Linked DNA regions of Homo sapiens: region 2 is linked to region 1. Evidence: promoter capture Hi-C in human tissues and cell types (Jung and others, 2019). All regions are on one chromosome and are shown on one strand. Each heading gives the region's core, a stretch centred on a gene start or on the middle of the fragment in contact. The rest is flanking DNA. Distances are from core to core; before and after follow the strand shown.

Region 1 (7,903 bases), core at 2,477-4,976:
AGTCAGAATCCGCATTTTAACAAGATCCCCAGGGGATTTTCATGCATATTTGAGTTTGATACGACTAGGCCGGGCACCTCTCAGCAGGGCAAACGGCCACCGAGGAGACCATGCTGGCCTGTCCCTGAGCCTCCAGGACCCACTGAGAAGCTAACTGGGACCTGGGGAGAAAAAAATTACCACAGTCACAAACCTGTGTAGTTTTCTGAATCCTTGTAACAACTCTCTGAGGTTAGTGTTCTTGTTACTATCATTTTGCAGATGGGGGAAACTGAGGCACCAGAAATGAAATAACTCACCTAAAGTTAGGCAAATGGAATCATATGGCTCTGAGCCCGAGCTCTCTGGCTCCTAACTCAGTTGTCTGTCTGCTTACACGTGGGGGTTACTTGTACAGGAAAGGCAGAGGTAGGAAAGGAAGATGCCGCCTTTCCTCTGAATGGTCCTCTGCAGTGTCCACGGCATTGCCTGATCCACTCCCGCTGGAGCTGAGAAGGCAGCTGTTTTTGTCCCCATTGCCCTGATGAAGGAACAGGCTTTGTGACTTGCTGGACTGAGATGCAAGCAAGACAGGTTCTCCTCTTCCCAGCCTCTCTTCTTGAAGTCCTGGGAGGCCAAGATCTTACGGAAGGTGGGGGGCTTTCTAGAAACCTTTCTGGCTGGGGGTTGTGTGCTGAGGTGAGGGGAGTAGGCCGGAGCTCTGTTCTGGGGGAGCCAAGGCTGGGGAGGCCATGGGGGAGCAGGAGGCCCCAGTAGGAGCAGGGGGTTCCACATGCGGAGCTGAGTGGGCTGTAGCCACCCCAGGAGACTGGGAGTGGGAGCTGCCTCCCTGCTAGCACCCCACTCGGCCCCCTCAGAGCACGGAACAGCCGCACGCACTCACTCACTGCAGAGAGCTAGGTTGGGACGGCAGGAGCCTGGACCGCTCCATGCACCTGCCCCTTCCATTTCTCCTCAGATGGAGGTTAATTAATCAGTCTCAGACTCTAGCTAGAAACCTCCAGCACACTCACCACAGACCTGGTGTCCGCACCCTTCCTCTCAGGCTTCTGCGCATGTCTATCCCTCCACATCAAGCATCCAAGACACACAGCCAGATAATGCCCATCGGGCCTCCACCTCTGAATTCCTGACTCCTGGGCCATCACACTAGCCCTAGGGTGTGCCCACTCCCCTGGCATCTCCCCTTGGTCAAGAGTCCATACCCCTCAGCATGGAAGAGTCACAGAACTCAGGGGTAAAGGGGGCATTTGCAGCCTACTCTGCCGCCCCCTTCACTCTGCAGAAGGCCAGAGAGAAGCAGAGCCACGACTGGGCCCACACCCTGGGCCTGCAGGGGCCGTGCCCTTCCACCAACCCCAGGAAGGCTGAGAGGGAGCCCGGAGAGTGGCCAGCCAGAGCCCCGGGCCAAAGACGGCCCGAGATTCCATGTGGCCAGGACGCAGGGGAGGCTGCCACAGCCGTCTAGGCTGGGCTCCGCCTACCGCTGCCTGTCTGGGCACCCAGGCCCTCTAGGACAGCTGCCCATCACCCCCATCACACACACTGCCCAGGCAGCAAGGAACCAGGTTTTAAAAATCTCTATATTTGTACTTGGAACAGCCATATACCCTCCTGGTTCATTTTAAAACACATGCCCCATCCTCACCCCCAGCCTCCTGCACCCCCGTTTCCTTGTCAAATATTCTCAATCTCAAACAGACCCTCTGGGAAGCAGAACAGAGAAGCCTCCTGAGTGGCCCCTCATGGGAGCTGGTCCCTGACATGAAGGAGGCTAAGGTGTCCACTGGGCCCTGGGGCCGGGCTCAGGGTGGTGTCCCTGGGGCTGGGCTCAGGGTGGTATTCCCAGGCAGGGCACAGGAGGCTTGGCTGGGGGAAAAAGGAGGAAGACCAGAGGGGCAGACAGCCTCTATGCTGGCTCCTTTCTCCTCTGCCCACCCCCAGAACTCCCAGACACCCCCAACCATCACATACATGCCATCCCCTCCTCCTTCCTACACTGCCCACTGAGGCCATAGCAGCCCAGAGGCGGCCCCTGGGCTCTGGTGCCTGGGAAACGGGAGCAGAGTTTGCTCCTCGTGGGCCCAGACAAGCTTCTGTCAAACCCCAAAGACACCAGATCGGCTGCTTAAGCAGCCTCTCTCCTTACCCCTCCCCGCGGGCCTGGCTTTCCTGGTCTCCCTCTTTTGGCAGTGCTGAGACTTTCTTTCTGCCGGTGGGGAGGTGGGGGTGGGAAAAGCTGGGCTCTTCTTGGCAGCTCGGAAGCTGCTGTCGGGTTTCCCTACCAGCTGGACTTCCCCCGCCTCAGCTCCACGTGCTCGGCTCCCTCCCCGCCCCCACCTGAGGCAGTTATCTAAGCTGCAGGGGTGTCATCTGAGTCACAAAGAGACACTGCCCAAGTAGCCCTGACAGCCGGGTGCCAACACCCCCCAGAAATGTGGACAGCTTGGGGGTGGGGGAGAGACAGGGCCGCCAACTGGAACCCAGCCCCAGACCTGCAGGGAGGTGCAGGAATGTGAACTTCCGACTCCTGGTCAGGCTGCTCCTCTCTCCAGCACTGTCCAAATGGGTCTGGGGGATTGAGAGCAACTGTCCCGCTCTACTCAGGGTGTCCATGCCCCCTGTGTGGGTCAAGAAGCCAGGCAGGCCTGGCCCCGCTGTGTACCCCCCACCCAAGCTCAGTGTCCAGCCCCCACTAAGGCTCCCTGACCCATTTGCAGATGGACGGCTGGGTGCACAGCTGCGGGACACCCCAGCAGGTTCTCGCGGGCCTGGTTCTCCTGTCTTGCCCTTGGGCTAGCAGGGAAGGGCTGCGATACTTCTCTCTCCTGCCCACTCCCAGCCTCACCCTCACCAGGGAGGCTTCATGCACAGCTGAGTGGGCCCATGCTCATCTGGGGGAGGGTTCCTCCACACCCTTGTCCAAGGACAGCCACCTGCAGGCAAGCTATAGGGAGGCCCAGGACCTGGGTCTGTGCCCATGCCTCTGACATCCAGGACCTCCTCCCTGCCACCCTCCACCCCAAGCCTTCCTCTGACCTGGCCCTGTCCCCAGCACCTGACTGCCATCCCAACCGCTTCCCATGACCCCCGAGTTTCTTGGGGCTGTCTGTGCAGAGCCGGGCACAACGACAGCACAAGGCTCTTGGCTGCTTCTCCCATGCTGCAGGGACCGGTTTCTATGCCACCCGGGACTGTCATCTGGCGCCAGCGCTGCCCTCCTCCCCACTTCCCAGCAGAATCCACAGCTCTTGTCCCCAGCACTGTGGGCTCAGAGTTCCCAGTGTCGTGCACCTTTGGGATGCTCAGGTGCCTGAGCCCGAGCAGCTTCTTCGGCCCCAGCAATTGCCTGCAGGTAGGAAGCAACTGCAGCTATTCCTGCAGGGCAGAGATGGCCGGTGCCCACTTCCCATGCCCCGACCACCCCCTGTCCCCACCAACCCTCCATTCCTTCCTACCAGCCACTCGGTACTCACCCGTCTTTACTCTGACTGCAAACGCCTTCAATCAGGTGGCTCTCAACCCTCCAGTAAGACCCTCCTGGGATTCCTATAGAAATCCAGACACCACCGGCAGGCAGAGCGCAGTGGGCACTGGTGCCAGAGTCTCCACTCAGCGGGAGCAGCGGCTGGCACGCAGCACACAGCACCAGGAGGTGGACTGCTTGTGGCAGACGGGGGACGGGGCTGCTGGGTCAGTCACAAACTGAGAAGGAAAGAGAGGGATGGAGGGAGAGAGAGAGAGGAGAGAGGGAAGAAAGGGGCGAGGGAGGAGAGCGCACGCGTGTGCGCGAGCAGCGAGCCAGAGTGGAGCGGGGAGTGACAGCTGGGGTGCATCTGTGATGACAGCGGCAGCAGCACACACAGGCGCACACCAGAGGCACCACGGCCGGCCGCGAGGGCAGCGCTCACCCTGGCCACGCTCACATTTCAGTGGAAAAAGGCGCCTGTGGATGAATCGCTGCCGACCACAGGGAGGAGGAAAGCGGTTTCACCACCACCTCCATCTTCCATCCTGCGCCTCCAGGCTCTCCCTCACCCCCCCGGCTGCACCTGTCTTCTGTGCCTCTCTCCTCTCTTCCCCTCCATCTGGGGAAAGAGGGACAGGCGCAGACACAGAGCAAGCGGCTGACTTCTGTTCCGATGGAGGCCCCCCTGGGAAGCTGGTCTTTCTCCTGTTTTAGAGACATGCGAGGCAGAGTCTCCCATCCTGCCTGAGAGAAGGAAAAACCGAACCCTTCTCTCGGTCATACGAAAGAAGGGTACACAGGCATGTCCATGTGCCAGATGACCCTACAGGAAAGGGCCCTGAGCCCCCACAAAGCCAGGGATCACATGGTCATGCAGAGGTCACTGAGCCTCAGGGTCTGACCACCCGACGCCAGGACTACTTAGGGAAGCAGAATGCCAGAGTTGGCAGGCTGGGAGTTTGGGCACAGGGCAGCCTGCAGCAGCAGCCTGCAGACCGTTCTCAGTGCCAGGGACGAGCTTGGCTTCTCAGGGCTCCTTGCTCTTATCTGTGATGGGTCAGGCATGCGAAGGGAAGAGACTGTCATTCAAGAACTTGGAGGCCTCTTTCTTAACCAATCAGGACAAAGCAAGTCAGAAAAATTGATATCCTAAGAGATGGGAAGTGGCTGATCTGAAGGCCAAGTGAGTCAGGGACCAAGCTAGAGGGGAGCCAGGGCCCCACCAGCCTGGAGCACGAACCCTAAATCCCCCTTCCTTTGCGTCCACTGCCTGTAGACAGATGAAGCACCGTGCTAGCGATATATCACCGTGTCCTATGTCCCTCTTCCATTTTGCCTGCTTTGCTGGAGGGGTTCACAGCCAGGACTGGGGTGGGTGTAGAAGAACCCCCTGGACTCAGGATGCCCCTAGAAGGATGCTCCTGCTCACTCCCTTCTGTCCGTTCTGCCGGGTCCCCGGGCAGCACAAGGCTTGAGCTGCAGTGTCTTTTACCTCTGGGGAGTCCCGCCTCTGACCTCTCATGCTGGTGCCTCCCACACATCCCACTGTCAAGCAAAAGAGGCTCCCACCTCCCCATAAACATACTTCCTGCTTCTCCATCTCCATGAAAGCGTGTTCTTCCCTGGGCCTGAAATGCTCTCCTGCCCATGGGTGGCTTCCCCCTTCCTTAAACGCCCCCTGCAAGGTGACGTTTCCCCGGAACACCACAGGACTGGCCCTGCTCCTCCTCCGATCTCTGGCATTCTCTTTGGGCCACCCTCATGTTGTGCAGGAGCTTTCTGTGGTCTGCTTCATCTCCTTTCCTTTTTTTTTTTTTTTTAATTTTTTTAGTATTTATTGATCATTCTTGGGTGTTTCTCGGAGAGGGGGATTTGGCAGGGTCATAGGACAATAGTGGAGGGAAGGTCAGCAGATAAACATGTGAACAAAGGTCTCTGGTTTTCCTAGGCAGAGGGCCCTGCCGCCTTCCGCAGTGTTTGTGTCCCTGGGTACTTGAGATTAGGGAGTGGTGATGACTCTTTTTTTTTTTTTTTAATTTATTTATTTATTTTTTATTGATCATTCTTGGGTGTTTCTCGCAGAGGGGGATTTGGCAGGGTCATAGGACAATAGTGGAGGGAAGGTCAGCAGATAAACAAGTGAACAAAGGTCTCTGGTTTTCCTAGGCAGAGGACCCTGCGGCCTTCCGCAGTGTTTGTGTCCCTGGGTACTTGAGATTAGGGAGTGGTGATGACTTTTAACGAGCATGCTGCCTTCAAGCATCTGTTTAACAAAGCACATCTTGCACCGCCCTTAATCCATTTAACCCTGAGTGGACACAGCACATGTTTCAGTGAGCACAGGGTTGGGAGTAAGGTCACAGATCAACAGGATCCCAAGACAGAGGAATTTTTCTTAGTGCAGAACAAAATGAAAAGTCTCCCATGTCTACTTCTTTCTACACAGACACGGCAACCATCCGATTTCTCAATCTTTTCCCCACCTTTCCCGCCTTTCTATTCCACAAAGCCACCATTGTCATCCTGGCCCGTTCTCAATGAGCTGTTGGGCACACCTCCCAGACTGGGTGGTGGCCGGGCAGAGGGGCTCCTCACTTCCCAGTAGGGGCGGCCGGGCGGAGACGCTCCTCACTTCTCAGACGGGGCGGCTGCCGGGCGGAGGGGCTCCTCACTTCCCAGACGGGGTCGCGGCCGGGAAGAGACGCTCCTCACATCCCAGACGGGGCGGTGGGGCAGAGGCGCTCCCCACATCTCAGACGATGGGCGGCCGGGCAGAGACGCTCCTCACTTCCTAGATGGGATGGCGGCCGGGCAGAGGCGCTCCTCACTTCCCAGACTGGGCAGCCAGACAGAGAGGCTCCTCACATCCCAGACGATGGGCGGCCAGGCGGAGACGCTCCTCACTTCCCAGACGGGGTGGTGGCCGGGCAGAGGCTGCAATCTCGGCACTTTGGGAGGCCAAGGCAGGCGGCTGGGAGGTGGAGGTTGTAGCGAGCCGAGATCACGCCACTGCACTCCAGCCTGGGCACCATTGAGCACTGAGTGAACCAGACTCCGTCTGCAATCCCGGCACCTCGGGAGGCCGAGGCTGGCGGATCACTCGCGGTTAGGAGCTGGAGACCAGCCCGGCCAACACAGCGAAACCCCGTCTCCACCAAAAAAATATGAAAACCAGTCAGGCGTGGCGGCGCACGCCTGCAATCGCAGGCACTTGGCAGGCTGAGGCAGGAGAATCAGGCAGGGAGGTTGCAGTGAGCCGAGATGGCAGCAGTACAGTCCAGCTTCGGCTCGGCATCAGAGGGAGACCGGGGAAAGAGAGGGAGAGGGAGACCGTGGGGAGAGGGGAGAGGGGAGAGGGAGTCATCTCCTTTCCTACACAGAGCTGTTCAAGCAGGGGGACTGGCCTCACCTGTTCCGTGTCCTTCAGGCCCCAGTGCCTTCGTGTCAACTGAGTGAGGAATGGAGGACATGAAAGAGCTCAAGACTGGGCATCAGGGGACCCAGACTCCAGACTCTGTTGCTCAGTGACTAGCTAGCTAGTGAGTTCACTCAGCAGCCCTGGGCCTTGTGCTGGCTGGGATTCCTGCCCTGCAGAATGAGGAGATGGGTTGAGATCTCTGGTCTCCCTTCTGGCACTGGCCTTCTGTGACCTAAGTATTCGCTGTGCACCTGTCGGGTCCTCAGCTTGTGTTACAAAAGATGATCCCTCTCATGCCCCACAGTCCCTATCCCGTGCAACACGCAGTCTCCTGGTTAGGTTCTCAAGACAGAGGAGGAGGAAAGAGAAGCAGATAAAGGGCTAGGAGGGCAAAGCTGGAGCTTCTGACTCCTGGGACCACAGCACTCAACAGTGTGCAAACTCATATGTTCATGTGCATGCTATGTATGTGCATGTGTGTGTACGTATGTGTGCATGTGCATGGTGCACGTGTATATGCATGTGTGTGCAAGTGTGTGCGTATGCCTGTGTGTCCATGTGTGCGTGCATGGGTATGTGTGTGCAAGTGTGTGTGCATGCATGTGTGTCCGTGTGTGCATATATGTGTGTGTCCATGTGTGTGCATGTATGTGTGTGTGCATGCACAGTTGTTTGGTTTTGCCTTCTGTGATGACACAGCAGCACCGAGGTGACAGTCTGTGTGCACAGCAAAGACGTACATCTTGATAAGCCGCCTGCGGGTCTGGCCTTATTGAGGCTCTTTGTTAGGTTGTCTGCCAGCGGAGCTGAGCTGCGATCTTACAGGAAAGCTGCTTGGGAGGAAGGCACGAGATCAATGTGGAGAGGCAGGGCAGAGAGGGAAGGCAAGGGACAGCCCAGAGAGGGAGGACAGGAGGGAGGGAAGGGACCCAGGTCAGCTGGGGCAGGAGGCCCGCTGGGGCAGGAAGGGGTCTGAGATTTGTCCTCCTCTTTCAGGTCATGACAGGCCCTCCTGG
Region 2 (7,903 bases), core at 1,620-4,119, 65 kb before region 1:
TGGGATACGCTGTGCTTCCTAGATCTGTGGAATTGGATTTTTAATCAGTTCTAGAATATTTGCCAGTATCATCTCTTCAACCATCACCTTTCCTCCATGCTCTCCCTTTTCTCTTTCTGTGACTCCAATCAGATGTGTATTAAACCTTCTCATTCCAGCCTCAGTAGAACTCTGGATACATCCACAAATGTATGCATTTTCTTTTTACCCATGAATAAAGCACTATCCATTTAATTTATTTTTTTCAACCTATACATTTTTTCATCTCCGAAAGCTTCATATTTGCAAGGCTGTTTCTTCATTCCTGGTCATTTCTTGTATGTTCTTTGTATTATGTGTTCTTCTCATACCTACCTAGTTTGTGTTTGGTATTTGGCCATTCCAACATCTGTAATTCTTGAGAAGCTATATCCAGCTCTTGAGGTAGCTCTTGAGTCTGCTGCCTCCCACTAATAGGGGTCTGCTCCTTATGTATTTGGGAATCTTTGCTTGTGAGGCCATGCTGCTTGTCCTCTTCAGAGTCCAGTGGGTCTGAGTTGGGAATCCACAAGAAAATTCGCTTCTGTTTCCGCTTGGACTTGAGGGTACCCTCATCCAGGACCTCCAAAGTCCTCTTCGAAGATTTTGGTTAAGAGCCAGTAATCTCAGACTCAGCTTCTCCTCCTCATTGCTGTTCTAAGGATCAAATTCCCCATGACCATGTTGCTGTAAGAATGTGGCCTCAGGAAAGCCCTACCTCCCATGACTGCCTGCAAGACTAGGTCAGACCAGTGGTACTCAAGCTCCCATCACACCACACTCCCATGGCTCTGCTTCCCACCTTCAAGGCTTTGGGTGCTAGCTGACCTCACACATATGCCTCACGCCTGGGGCTCTGTTCTCATTTGTTTGGTTTTGAGATCATGGTCTCTGACAACCTCTCCTACCTTTGAGATGCCAGCAATGCCTCAAAGGGTGTATGTCATCTGAAGTCTAACCACTGTGGAGGAGGAAGGGCCCTTGGAGCTTCTAGACATTCATAATACTGCTACAATCATTTTGTCTATCCCAATCACAACATATTGCAATTCCACCTGTTATTTTTACTCTTCTTCTTTTAAACCCACTATTCCCAATCATAAAGTCTTTTCAAATCGAGATTCTATTGTGGATCATGTCAGTGTTTTCTGTGCATCTATACAAATTTTTTTATTAGGTGGATAGGATAAAAATCTACACCAGCATTCTGCTACTGGGTCAACGCAAGATCTTTCATATCCATTCATTTGTCCTTTCATTCAAGTAACAGACATTTATTAAGCATATACTCTGCTGGGTTCTAGGAATCCCTGACCTCAAAGAGCCTACAGTCATAGAGCCAAATCATTTCTCCCATCCCAGCCAACAGGAAGGATCCTGAGTGCTAATGAGCTTAACACCTAGAGGCAAGTGTGTTAGAAGTCAGAGCACTTGCCTTTTTCAACATTTTGTCCACACTTTGCTGGATGGTAATGGATGTTAAAAGTCACACTTCTCCAAAGCTTCCCCCTCCACTATTTGATATGAGGTTTTGCCTCACAAATGAGTCCCAGGCACCACCTATGTGGTCCTACCTGTGAAATTACCCCCAGCTCTGCATCTGGGCAGTTTGGCTGGTAGATGTCTCCTTGCCAGCTTGTCTCAGTCTACAGGGCATGTCCCAGTGTTCCCCACCCTGTTCCCTAGCTCCAAAGCTGTTCTGCCCTGGGGATCATGGCCATCTTGGGGGTCCACACCCAGCCAGGGGATCTGGGGTGGCCTCACCAAGCTAGTAAAAGAACGAGTCTTTATTCTCCCAGGTATAAAATGGACACCTGATGAGAATGGAGTCATTACTTTTGACTGCCGAAACCGCGGCTGGTAAGAGCTCACAGGGGAAAGGTTTGCGGCCCGGGTATTTATCTCATAGCTTTTGGGTTTTGCCTCATCCTCCTCCACTTCCGCCCCTTCCCCCACCGCCACTCAAGGGCCTTGGGTGTGTAGAACCCTAGCCCGACACAAGAGCAGGAAGAGGGCCAGCATTCCTCCCTTCCCTCTACAATTGCCTTGCTCCAGGACTGATCATGTTTGTCTTTCCCAACCTAAACCTCCTGCCAGGACACTGAGCTGTCTCCACGTCAACCTTTTGTTAGGCTCTCCTCTCCTTCCACACCCCTTTTGTGGCAAGTTGGTAACAGAATCTGAAGCCCAGCTCTCTCCCTTTCTGCTGCCAGCCCCTCAGGGACCCCGGTTGGTCTAAATCAAAAGGAACAAGCGTTACCTCCAGGGCTTGACCTGGCCTGTTAGGTGGCACATCCCCAACCACTGCCACCCCAGATGGCTTCAGCACTGTGTCAAGTGGTTATGGAACATGTGAAACCTGGCATAGATGGGTTGCCCTGAACTTTGGGTGGGCTCGAGCCAGCATCTGAACAGAAATAACTGCAGACCCCTTGGTCAGGTATTGGTTCCGGCTTTGGTTTTCCCATCTTGGGCATGTCCCTTTCTTCCTTCAGGTACATTCAAGCTGCTACTTCTCCCAAGGACATAGTGATTTTGGTGGACGTGAGCGGCAGTATGAAGGGGCTGAGGATGACTATTGCCAAGCACACCATCACCACCATCTTGGACACCCTGGGGGAGAATGACTTCATTAATATCATAGCGGTAAATGTGCCTTCCTGTTCTAGAATAGCTCTCACTTGCTCTAGAAATCATACACAGGTACCAAGGTGACCCACAACCCCTGACCACCCGGTGACCTGCATGAGTGTCTTTGCTGGGCCTGGACTTTGCAACCTGATGCTGTTTATTCTCCCCCCACCTCCCCTCAACTCACTGCAACTGCAGTACAATGACTACGTCCATTACATCGAGCCTTGTTTTAAAGGGATCCTCGTCCAGGCGGACCGAGACAATCGAGAGGTGAGTGTCCACGGTGGCCTGAGACTTCCAAGCCCCTGCTCTTGTCTGGATGGTGGGCGGTTGTCTCTGTAGACTGTTTCTGTGGCCCTTTTTGCTTATTCCCATGGCACCTGGAATGAGAGCAGAGCACGTTACCCATGCAAACAACCCAGGGAACCGCCCTGTAAACACACTGCTGCTTATCAGAGCAAACAGTGAGCAGATAGAGACCTCATAGCAAAGGGAACCTTCCTTATTCAGGACTGGTTTTTCACCCTGTGGATTATATAGGACTCAATTTCCCCTTTTGCCTCCCACCTGGACCTTTCCATTATGTCAGTTTTCATGAGAAGCTTCCCCGAAAGGAGGACAAATTTAAACTTCATTGAGTGTCATCCTTTCCTCTGGTAAAAGACCAAGGAGGAGAGGACATGGCAATAATTTTTTAAAGAGAGCTTTTGCACATCATAGATTCCTCCCTCTGTGATGGAGGAGTTGGGGTTTGAGTTCCTCTTGAAGCCGGGCCTCTGCCCTGGGCACCTCCACACTTTCTGCTGTGAAGTGTGCACCCCTGGGCTGCGGGCTGCGGGCTGTGGTCTGGGAGCCGAGGTTACCCTGCCTCCATCCCAGAACTGTCCTCCCCCTGTACTCAGCTTCACACTTGGCGTTTCCCATCAATAGTGGCCATGGATGTGTACCAAGTCATTTCCCCTCTCTCAGTTTATCTTGGGGACATTTGAGAAACACCTATTGTAGAGGACCAGTCCATGAACTGCATCATGGAGACACAGGCCCTGAAATCATGTCCTTCTGGATGGCCCTAAACAGCCTCCCAAATTAACACCAAACATGAAGCTCCACTGGCCCACTCAACCCCCTGATGCTTCTCTAATATCTCACCCATGGCAGCATTTCAAACTGCTGGTGGAGGAGTTGATGGTCAAAGGTGTGGGGGTCGTGGACCAAGCCCTGAGAGAAGCCTTCCAGATCCTGAAGCAGGTGCCCACTGTAATGAGGCCTGGGAGGGGAGGACTGGGAGGAAGGCGGCAGGTGGAGGGGGGTGGGCTTGGCCTGTGGTCATGGGCACTCCTCTTCCCTACACAGTTCCAAGAGGCCAAGCAAGGAAGCCTCTGCAACCAGGCCATCATGCTCATCAGCGACGGCGCCGTGGAGGACTACGAGCCGGTGTTTGAGAAGTATAACTGGCCAGACTGTAAGGTGACCCTCCCACGGGTGTCCAGGGAGAAAAAAGCTTCTCCTGCTGCCATGGATGGGATCACCAGCAGGGACCCTAGAAGGATGGCCCCCATTCAAATCTGCTTTCCTATTAGAGCCATTCTTGCTTTCAGATGCATTTTAATTGAGTGTTCCAAAATTATGGCTACCCGAGACACAGAGGCCTGATGTAGGAAGTTTGGGGTAAGGGACCAGAATATGGTTTGGGGACATCAGAACTGCCAGGCTGTAAATCTCAGCCTTGCACCTACCCGCAGTCCCCATGGCCCTGGGCGAATTGTGTTGCTGCCTGGGCCTCAGGGGGTGAAATTGGAGAACCCGAAGACTGAGAGGCACTGGGGCCAACATCTAAGACTCATATAAACAATGTTAACATTACTTATGGCCGGGAATTTTGCTGCTGAGTGCCTCTGTGTCTTGTGGGTTAGGTCCGAGTTTTCACTTACCTCATTGGGAGAGAAGTGTCTTTTGCTGACCGCATGAAGTGGATTGCATGCAACAACAAAGGTGAGTGCCGGGCCAGCAGGTACCTTCCCACCTGCACCTGAGCACAGGAGACAGGGTTACCCAGCCCTGGAAGTGCTGAGCACGGGCTTCCCCATGGGCCCCTAAGAGGAGCAGTGCTATGTCAAGAACAGCAGCCTCAGTCCCTCCTTCATATTTGGAAAAAGCAAGGTGAGACAATGTCAGCTCTGTCTCCATCCTGCCCCCATTCTTTCTTTCAGCAAAGTAAGCCATGGACTCTGGTTCTGCTCCCAGACAAAAAGCAGAGGGTCACTGTTTTCTCTGGAATAATGTTTTGTGTGTGAATGGTCCTCATCTATCTCTGACCAGACCCCATTGATTCAACAAAAATTCACTGAGCATCCACTATGCACCTGGCCCCATTTCCAGGCACCAGGGGACCAAGAGGGATCAGGATGGACTCAGGGTCGGTCTACCTCTCAGTATTGTCCAGCAGGGAGACATACAAGTAAAACACCACCCACGATGCAGCCTGAAATGTGCTTTGATGGTGGAGAGACACAGACTGTTCAGGGTGCCGGGGGCCATGGGGGAGGCACTCTCCAAGTCAGTGGGGCGACTGGAAGGGTGTTCCAGACAGAGGGAACAGTGTGCTGAAAGGGTCTGAGACCTGCTGGGAGCAGAGAGGTGCTGCATCTCACTGGCGAGGGGGATGAACACGGTGGGAGGTGGGGGCGTGGAGAGGCCATTCACAGCCTTCTGCGCCATCTGCGCTTTGGAGTGTCACCATGGTTCCAGGGAATAGGCTGTAACACCCACCCCACAACCTGAGCAAGAACAAGGACCAGAGGAAGGAGGAGCGGAGAGGCAGAAATCTCTGCCTCTGATTGGGTTCCCTGAAGAGACCTAAGAGTGGCAGAAGAAAGCTTACAGGGCACTCTCATGAGATGTTCCTGTGAGGAAGTGGGAGGGCGAGGCTGGGAGAGGGAGAGGCTGACCCCCAACACTCTTGCGTCAGGCCCTGCTGCTCCTTCCGGAGCTCTGGGTGGGACAGCCCCTCAGAGATCTTCCAGGGTGCAGCAGAGTGAGCCTTGGCCTCCCACTGGCCTGCGGCTGCCCCTGGGTAAAGGACACAACTGTGGGGAAGCAGCTCCCTGTGCCCCGGTCCAGTTTCCAGAGAGTATTCGGCTATGAGCCATCTGCAGCTGGGGAGGGTGCAGGCCCTGGCGAGGGGTTCCCAGGGAAGCCCTGCCTTCCACACCCACGCGGCCTTCCCCACCGCAGGCTACTACACGCAGATCTCAACGCTGGCGGACACCCAGGAGAACGTGATGGAATACCTGCACGTGCTCAGCCGCCCCATGGTCATCAACCACGACCACGACATCATCTGGACAGAGGCCTACATGGACAGCAAGGTGAGCCTGGCAGCAGCTCCCAGCTCGAGAAGCCCACCTCAGAGTTAGGGACCCCAGGGAGTAAGAAGTTACTTCCTGGGTCAGGAAAGGGGTGGGCCTAGCACCTCCTTAGGGAACATTAAGAAGGGGCGAATGAAGCCGCTTTTCCATGCTTTTCCTCCTCTTTTCCTGACAGCCCTTGGCCCACTAATGGGACCACTGCTCATATGCTGCCTTAGACCCCCAGCAGACCTGCCTGAGGTGCTCTCCACGGACAGGGTCCCTGCTCCGAAGTTGTTCCTTCCTCCTCCTCCACAGTCCTCGCCTCCCTCATCATCCCTCCCTCCCACCCACCCGGGACAGAAAGGGGTCAGACCAAGAATCCACCATCCCACAGCTGGAACACGTTCTCCCTTCCTGGGTCCCTGCATTTTCAAAGGACTGTAGGCAGCAATGACTTGCACGAAAGAATGAACATCAAAGGGAGAGCTTCACATGGGACCTTTCTGGGGAAGGGAGACCTTTCTGCCATTTCTCAAATCCCCATCACATAGGCAGCCACCTGCTTCAGTGATGATGTATCAGGCTGGGCTCCAGAGAGACCTGAAAAGAGTGGCTTAAATAAGATAGAAGTGAATGTCCCCCTTGGGTAAACAAAGCCCAGAGCTGACCACGAGCTCTCTGGCCTGGTCATCAGGGACCCAGGCTCCTCCCTGCTGTCCCCTTTGCTGTCCCAGCCATGTGGCCCTCATCCTCATGCTCAGGAGGCTGGTGGAACATGAGTCAACTGAAACCACACTTAAGCATCAGGCTGTGGAAGGGGAAGGGGGATACTTCGCCCCTGTGAGGGAAACTTGCAGGGACTCTTGCCAGAACCCAGAATTCACCTTTCACTGGCCAGAACTCAGTCCCTGTGCTGACAAAGGAGGCTGGGAATGCAACGAGGCAATGGTCAGCTTTCTTCTGAGTTGCTCTATGTCCAAAAGCAGTGGCATGCTTACTTACCTCCACCTGTTAATAGTAGACATAAGCCATCTGGCCAAATTTGGGATGAAAAGCTCATTAATCTACTTTAAAGGGGCTCCGCCAACACGGCCATGCTCAGCAGATGTCATCTGACCATCACCGACTGCTGCTGAGAAGAGACGAGCTGGCTGCCTTTGGGCAGGGCTCTCCCTCCCTTGTCCAAGTGTTCATAGGGCCCTGAGTGTCCAGGTTTGATGAGAGAGAGGTGGGTGGGGAGAAGGAGGACAGGAGGGGATCTTCTTTGAGCTGTCTTCCTGTGAACCCTGGCACCTGCACTTCCTCTCCATCACCCGTGCATTCATCTGCCTGCCAGTAGCCAGCCCAGCAGGAGGGGCCAGGGCTCCGGTGCTCCGTGTGGGCCTCCCTCACCTGGGAGTGTTGTGGTCATGCCACGGGAGCTGGAAAGCGAAGGCTTTCAGAACCATGAAATCCGATGAGAGAAGCCGGGCATAGGCCATACCTGCTGAAGGTGGCCTGGAGTGTTGGGTGTGAGTTTGGCAGAAGGTGGGTAGAGGCAACCCCAGGTTCCCTGTGTGCTGCAACTGATGTCAGACGGTGCTAGGATGTCCTTAGCATTCTATGGACAGCCTGACCTTCTGACGCTCTCTTACCTCCACGCACACAGACGAGGCCACAGTTCACAGTTTGATCTTCACTTTTACACCTGTCCCTCAGTGAGAACCGCCCCCTGCAACCAGTCCCTACATCTCCTCTGTCTTCCTCCTTCCCTCTCCTGTCCCTGACTTAGGAGTCCCTGAAGTTAAGGGTCACCTGCAGGTCTCCCGGACCCACTTCGGAACCCTCTGAGTGGAGGATGTCACTCCCCTGAGCCCAGGGCAGGTGTCCGCCCTTGCAAGGGTATCCAGAAACATGAGTGC

What was found. The method cuts DNA at HindIII sites, captures the fragments that hold promoters and counts their contacts. A contact is called where the count stands out against the background at its distance.
Region 2: a fragment that was not itself captured here is called in contact with the fragment with the promoter of LRTM2 in region 1 in 7 of the 25 tissues and cell types used here (IMR-90 fibroblasts, bladder, dorsolateral prefrontal cortex and 4 more).

The regions. Positions count from the first base shown.
Region 1 is chr12:1,816,388-1,824,290 of GRCh38, reverse strand. LRTM2 (leucine rich repeat transmembrane protein 2) reads right to left here and starts at 3,726. Exons shown (of 5, transcript NM_001039029.3): 1 at 3,477-3,726. The region is part of intron 26 of CACNA2D4 (calcium voltage-gated channel auxiliary subunit alpha2delta 4); the gene reads left to right. LOC105369601 (a long non-coding RNA gene) reads right to left here. Exons shown (of 5, transcript XR_931546.3): 5 at 5,485-7,057. RefSeq lists an enhancer at 3,410-4,156. The HindIII fragment of the contact is 8,239 bases long and covers 839-7,903 here.
Region 2 is chr12:1,880,984-1,888,886 of GRCh38, reverse strand. CACNA2D4 (calcium voltage-gated channel auxiliary subunit alpha2delta 4) reads left to right here. Exons shown (of 38, transcript NM_172364.5): 7 at 1,818-1,878; 8 at 2,514-2,664; 9 at 2,848-2,922; 10 at 3,811-3,900; 11 at 4,006-4,119; 12 at 4,566-4,644; 13 at 5,887-6,020. LOC124902858 (a long non-coding RNA gene) reads right to left here and starts at 4,681. Exons shown (of 3, transcript XR_007063158.1): 1 at 4,584-4,681; 2 at 2,837-3,032; 3 at 1-2,631. The HindIII fragment of the contact is 3,944 bases long and covers 898-4,841 here.